2 separate regions of the Homo sapiens genome follow, and region 2 is linked to region 1. The links are contacts of gene promoters, found by promoter capture Hi-C in human tissues and cell types (Jung and others, 2019). All regions are on one chromosome and are shown on one strand. Each heading gives the region's core, a stretch centred on a gene start or on the middle of the fragment in contact. The rest is flanking DNA. Distances are from core to core; before and after follow the strand shown.

Evidence for each region. The method cuts DNA at HindIII sites, captures the fragments that hold promoters and counts their contacts. A contact is called where the count stands out against the background at its distance.
Region 2: a fragment that was not itself captured here is called in contact with the fragment with the promoter of RLF in region 1 in 1 of the 25 tissues and cell types used here (liver).

Annotation. Positions count from the first base shown.
Region 1 is chr1:40,159,900-40,163,207 of GRCh38, forward strand. It overlaps RLF (RLF zinc finger), which reads left to right and starts at 1,488. Exons shown (of 8, transcript NM_012421.4): 1 at 1,488-1,737. The coding sequence starts at 1,501. LOC105378671 (a long non-coding RNA gene) reads right to left here and starts at 1,379. Exons shown (of 3, transcript XR_947232.3): 1 at 1,066-1,379. RefSeq lists a silencer at 1-151 and enhancers at 1,160-1,776, 1,264-1,773, 1,777-2,392. The HindIII fragment of the contact is 7,287 bases long and covers 1-3,308 here.
Region 2 is chr1:39,893,965-39,897,272 of GRCh38, forward strand. It overlaps MYCL (MYCL proto-oncogene, bHLH transcription factor), which reads right to left. Exons shown (of 2, transcript NM_001033081.3): 2 at 1,464-3,308. The region is part of intron 1 of MYCL-AS1 (MYCL antisense RNA 1); the gene reads left to right. Among named protein-coding and RNA genes, the nearest start is that of MYCL, 6.3 kb to the right of the region's middle. The HindIII fragment of the contact is 4,329 bases long and covers 1-3,308 here.

The sequences.
Region 1 (3,308 bases), core at 238-2,737:
GCCAGGATAGTCCTGATCTCCTGACCTCGTGATCTGCCCGCCTCGGCCTCCCAAAGTGCTGGGATTACAGGCGTGAGCCACCTCGCCCAGCCCGGGAACTGTTTTGGATACTAATCAAAACAATGGTTATGGCTGGGCGCGGTGGCTCACGCCTGTAATCCCAGCACTTTGGAAGGCCAAGGCGGGCGGATCACTTGAGGCCAGGAGTTCGAGATCAGCCTGGCCAACACAGTGAAACCCCGCCTCTACTAAAAATACAAACATTAGCCAGGCATGGTGGCGGACGCTTATAGTGCCAGCTACTTTGGGAGGCTGAAGCACGAGAATCACTTAAACCTGAGAGGCAGAGGTTGCAGTGAGCCTAGATCGTGCCACTGCACTCCAGGCTGGGTGACAGAGTGAGACCCTGTCTCAAAAAACAACAACAATAAACAATGGTTATATATATGGGGAATATCATTTAGTCTGTGGCTTGTCTTTGTGTGCTTTTTCAACTTGTTATACGGAAGTAACACATTTTAATACAGTCAAATCTAAATATTTTCCCTTATGGTTTGTGCTTTTCCGGTCTTATTAAGAAATTCTTAGCCGGGCGCGGTGGCTCACGCCTCTAATCCCAGCACTTTGGGAGGCTGAGGCGGGCGGATCACCTGAGGTCAGGAGTTCGAGACCAGCCTGACCAACATGGAGAAACCCCATCTCTACTAAAAATACAAAATTAGCCAGGTATGGTGGCGCATGCATGTAATCCCAGCTGCTCCGGAAGCTGAGGCAGGAGAATGTTTGAACCAAGGAGGCGGAGGTTGCGGTGAGCTGAGATAGCACTGTTGCACTCCAGCCTGGGCAACAAGGGTGAGACTCCGTCTAAAAAAAAAAAAAAAAATTCTTCCCTATTTTTGACATTATAAAGCTATTTTTATTTTCTGAAAAATGTTTGCAGGTCTTTAATCCATCTCGGCCTTATTTTTGGAAATGGTTTGAGGTAGAAATCTAATCATTTATTTCCCTTTTGGAAAAAATGTCTCATCGCCATTTATTGAAGAGTCTGTCCTTTCGCCCACTGACTTGTAATGCCGTCTGTATCATAAACCAAGTTCCCTTGATGTTACTCTTCATTTCGGCCTCACAATCTTTGCTTATTTTCCTTCTACCAGGGATGCTTTTCGCTATGTTCCTTTCAGGGCTACCTTCCTCTTGTCCCTTCAGATCGCAGTTCAAATGTCATCCCCCTCAAATCTAGATTGCTCTACAGGCATTTCTGGCTCCGTGATCCCATGACCTCAAAGGGGTCTAGGTGGGCATAGCCTCTAGCCAGTTGTTGCTAGGCTGTTGTCAGGACTGGCGATGCGTAGGCCACTGAGAGCACCCGGAGTCCGAGTGACGGAATCAGGCGGGCGCCCGCGTCGCTAAGGAGTGCGTCACAGTGCGCGGGCGGCCGGGGGCAGGGCCAGGGCTGAGTCACGTGGCTTGGTTGCCTACGCGCTGGTGGGCCGTGGGAAGATGGCGGACGGAAAGGGAGACGCCGCCGCTGTCGCCGGGGCTGGGGCTGAGGCTCCGGCGGTAGCGGGAGCCGGAGATGGAGTCGAGACTGAGTCCATGGTTCGGGGTCATCGCCCCGTATCTCCAGCGCCGGGAGCCTCGGGACTGCGGCCGTGTCTGTGGCAGCTGGAGACAGAGCTGAGGGAGCAAGAGGTGTCGGAGGTCTCATCTTTGAACTACTGCCGGAGCTTCTGCCAGGTGAGGGGCTGACTGGCTGGCTGAGGGCGGCGGGGCGGGGAAGTCAGGGAAGGAGGCCCTGGATCCTCTGTAAGCAGCCGGGTCCAAACTGAAAGGCGCCACCTCCGTGACTCGCCGCGCCCCCGGGCCGGGAAGGCCCAGCTCGGAAGCTCGACCGCTGGCCCCCCTGCGCCACTGCCCGACTTTGGCCACCGCTGGGTCGTTTTGCTCTGAGCCTTACTGAGATCCCGGAGGGCCCTGGCGGGTCCCTGGAAGGGCTGTGCCCTGTCGCCGTTGCCTGTGTCCTGGCCGGGTGGTTGGAGCGCCACTGCCCCCTGAGGGATTGATTGCTTGTCCCTGCCGGGAGATCCTTTTTTGAGTGGAGTGCAGATCTCCGAACTGGTAAACCCGGGTTTTTCTGAATAATCCAGAGAGGTGTGTTGGGGCCAGAGACTTATTTTTGGAGTTAACATCTTCTGGGCTCCTAAAAGGTATGACAGTTGGCTTCGAAAGGCGTCTAGAGCTTTCTGATTAGGGATTGCGGAGCCGGTTGGTTGTTTGGTTTTTGCTTTTTTTTTTTTTACGTTTAAGCCGTTCTTTCGTCTTTTCTGTATTTCTTTGAGAGGATTGTGCTACCGAGAATAAGGCTGACTCTTTGAGTAGAAGAGGATGGGAAGAGGGATGTAGAGTGTGGCCTCTTTTGGCAGTCGTATGATCATTTCTGTGCCTTGGTGGGTCCTAACCTATGATTACATATTTATGGGTGTGTTTAGTTTAGTCTCCATGACCACTCCGAGATTTTTCTGTATGTTTTCAAGTCTTTTACAAATACAAATATTGGCCATTATTATTTCTGCTTCCAATGTTTGTTCTGTCAGGTTTCAGAGGCACCCATCAGCTCCTTATCTGTTGTACCTTAGAAAATGCAAAATAATCGTGGCATGTTGGTACTTGGAGTCTAATAAGTAGTCCAGTATGCTGAATAAATTGCGGCGTTCTAAAATAATAATTTTGGGGGGCAATTTGCTCTGTTGGTCCGGAGTAGAATAAAAGTTAGCTTGCTTGATTGCTTTTCTTCCCTCTCTCTGCCGAGGCAGAAGCACCTCATCTCTCTGAATGGAATTTTGTCCTTACTAATCTTTTCCGTGGATTGTACCACTCCAATTTTTGTGTGTACAACCTGCAACATTGCCCTGTACTATTAAATGTTAACGTGTTGTTGTTCTCTGCTTCCTTAGTAGTAGTCATCCCTGTTTAGTAAGCTCATTTATTTTACAGATTTTTACTGACTTCATAGGATAGTGCCAGGGACTTTACCAAGTGCTGGGGAAACATGAGTAAGACAGCACTTAGCCTTGATGAACTTACAGTTGGTGGGAGGTGGTAGGAATGACAGTATTTCCAGTGCGGTTTTGGTAATGATGGAAAAGGAGGTGTTGTAGAGACAATGGTGAGGAGAGAGCCTTCATGGGATATCCTGATGGGAAAGACAATTAACTAGAAAAATAAGTAAAAAGGTTAATTATAAATTGTAGTATGTGCTTAGAAAGAAGTAACTGGGAGAGGCCACTTTAGTTAGTAAGACCCTATGG
Region 2 (3,308 bases), core at 557-3,056, 270 kb before region 1:
CTTTTTGACCGTACTGAGGCTCCATAGGAATTCGGGTGGGCAATACCAACCCAAGTCCCATCTGTAAGGAGGAGTTAGTGGAGGCTTCTTTCACCATGATGCTCATGGCCATCCTGAACAGCAACTGATTGCTTTTCAGTCCCAGATGGGGCCCCTTTGCAGCAAGACTATGCCACCCAGCACACATATGCCTCAGAGTTGCTGGTCATGGGACATTTGCTCCATTTCATCCCAATAAGTGGCAGGCACAATAGCCCCAAAGAGAGTTACAACAAGCAGTTAAATGACGGAATTCCACGTTTACCTTCTCCACATACCCCGTGCTAACAAACAAGCTGATCATCATAATATAGTGACTAAGACCTCTTGCTCTGGAGATAGGCAGAGCTGGTTTCAAATCACAACTGAATTACAAGCTTGTGAATTTGCATAGCTTTGTTTACTCTTAGAACCTCAGTTTCTTCATCTGTAGCCCTGACACATGGTTGATATGGCAGAGTGTTCAGACATAAGCAGTGCCCTATGAGGAACAGCTATTACTGAATTCCCCTGTCTTGCATTTACAGCAAGTTTATGAGAACTATGGGAGGAAAATGAAGCTTAAACTTTCTTTCATTAATTAAGGAGGAAGAATGTTTTTTTTGAGACAGGGTCTGGCTCTGTTGCCCAGGCTGGAGTGCAGTGGCGCAATCTTGGCTCACTGCAACCTCTGCCTCCCAGGCTCAAGCCATCCTCCCACCTCAGCCTCCCGAGTAGTTGGGACTACAGGCGTGTACCACCATGCCTGGCTAATTTTTGTATTTTTTGTAGACATGGGTTTTTGCCATGTTGCCCAGGCTGGTCTTGAACTCCTGAGCTCAAGCAGTCTGCCTGCCTCAGCCTCGCAAAGTGCTGGGATTACAGGCATAAGCCACTGCACCCAGCCAGGAGAAAGAATTTTAAAACTATCTTTCTGTAAGAAAAAAGTACATTGCAACATAAATTCTCAGAAAAAAACTTTAAAAGACATCTTGCAGAAGGTCATCATACCACTAAGATAAGAATAACACCATCCTAAAGAGTATAAGGCTTTATAGTTTAGAAAGCAGTTTTAAGTCTACCCCTTCATTTAATACCTGCAAAAACCCAGTGAAGTAGCATTTATCCCCATTTTACCGATAAGGAAACTAGGACTCAGAAAGATGAAACTAAAGGCTGCAGAAGTGGTGGAGCCAGGATTTCAAGCCTTCTAAAGTACAAATTCAGCACTCTTTGCAATTCACAAGAGAATTCCGTGTTCACTGAGTACTGAGCCTACATTGTTTCAACATGTCTGAAATGGCATTTCAGGAACCCAGAGTGGAATGACCAGGTTAGCAACATGGTTAGAGAAGTGCAGCCCTCTGGATCACTTGTGGCTACCCTGAAATAGTTTTCCGTGGTTGAGGAGGACTCAGGTGGCATAAGCTGCCCCCACTCTGACATGTTTGAGAAATCTTTTATTAGAAGATGTCCCAGAAGGCAACATTTTAAAATCAGGCAATCAGTAATCACAACTAAATACAAAATTTCAGGTGAACTTGCCTTTCAAAATAAATCAGACCCTTGCAACAGGAAATTGCCCCAAGAGTTTTTTTCCTTGTACAAAAACAGTTAACACCACTTTGCAAAAGGCATACAAAAATACAATATAAAAAAAAAAGACTCCCCCAGCATAATAGCCAACAGCAGCTTATAAAACACAAGCTATTCAGTTGAGACATCAGTAACCTACACCCAAACTGTCCTCCATAGACAATTCCAGAAGTCAGCTGGCTTTTGTAAACCATGCTCCAGAAGGGTAGAGAGGCTATTTCCAAACATCCCCTGGGGTCCTCTGAGGCCAAGAAGCAACCTCAGAAAGAAACCATTATGGACAATAGATTTGGAAGTAGCAGCTGGTTTTCCAGAGCCATATATAGTACTTACCACCCCCTACCCACCCCAACTTCCAAACCCAGAGCCAGCAGGCACCTGCTGTCCTGGGCAGAGTTCTGGAGGGGCTGCTGGTCCTTCTTCCAGGACAGGCTTAGAGGTGCCTGAGGTTACCCACATGACAACTGCTAGGTTGGGTGACTTTCCCAGACTAGAAGCTGCACGTGGATTCCACTTGGAGCTGCCGAGTCCAGCTGGGGTAAAATCCATCATGGTTGGCTAAGCATATCTCCTGGAGGCTCCTTTAAAACCCACCAGAAGCAAGTCCACCTTCTGGAGCACTGGATGAGTCCCAACAGCTCTCCCCAAAACTTCAGAAACGCCCAGATTCTGGGAAAGATATCTGATTCATGGCAGGCTGGAAGGGGCCCAAGGGTGGCTGCAGAGCCAGCAAGCTCCTTGGAATTGCATGAGGAGGACAGATTTGCATGGTTCCAGAAGAACTTCAAACTTGCCGCTCAAGGATTGAGATGAGGCAGGTGGGAAAGAGGCAGCAGTACAGTTCTCCCTCTGAGGTGTCTTACACCTGCCTTGAGAAAAGACTGGGCCTCAAGTGCCCCTCGGAAAACACCTGGGCAGGGATCAAGTTCATGGGCCAGGACTCCAAGCTATCCCCAGGCCCCAGGCTAGGACCGATTTCCCTGTGTCTTGGGGAAATATTTCTGACCTGTGGGAAAGGGTGCTGTAGAGCCCATTGCATAACAAGGCATAATGGAACAAAAAAGTCCCTTGTGAGGAAAGAAAGGTCCCTCCCTCAGAGGAGAGAGCCCAGAGGGCTCTGAGACAAAGAATCTAGAGGCCAAGCTTTTTAAGTGTTCCCAGGGTCGCAGCATTGGGAGTGGGAGGAAGGGGGTCAGCTAACATCATAATATATAAAGGTTTCCAACTCCTTGGCTACTGTAAAGTGTCTGACAGTGAGGTAATGGTCAATGTTGATCAAGTCTGCAAGCTTGTCTTCACCCAAGACAGCTCGTGTGTCTTCTGGAAAAAGGAGCCTCAGGGAGAGCATCCAGGCCCAGCTGTCCTTGCATCACCCCAGAGACACCAGTTGGGAGCATCCTTTCCTAGCCTAAAGCTCATGCAGAGTGTGAGATTTCATGCAGGCTGGAGCCCCTGACAACATCCACCACCTGTTGCATAGCATCTGTCAGCCTTTTCTTCAGAGCTAGTGAGCTAGGCAGACCCCAAGGCTCCTCAGTCAGCTGCCTGCTGGGAAGCCAAAGGCGCCAGAGAACATACAGCACTCCCATGAGTCAGGGAAGAGGGAGAGCTGGGTTTCAAGGTTTCCAAGAATGCAAGCCTTTATTGTGTGTGCACCGGCTGCAATGCATTCTGGGATCTACTGTCCAGACTGT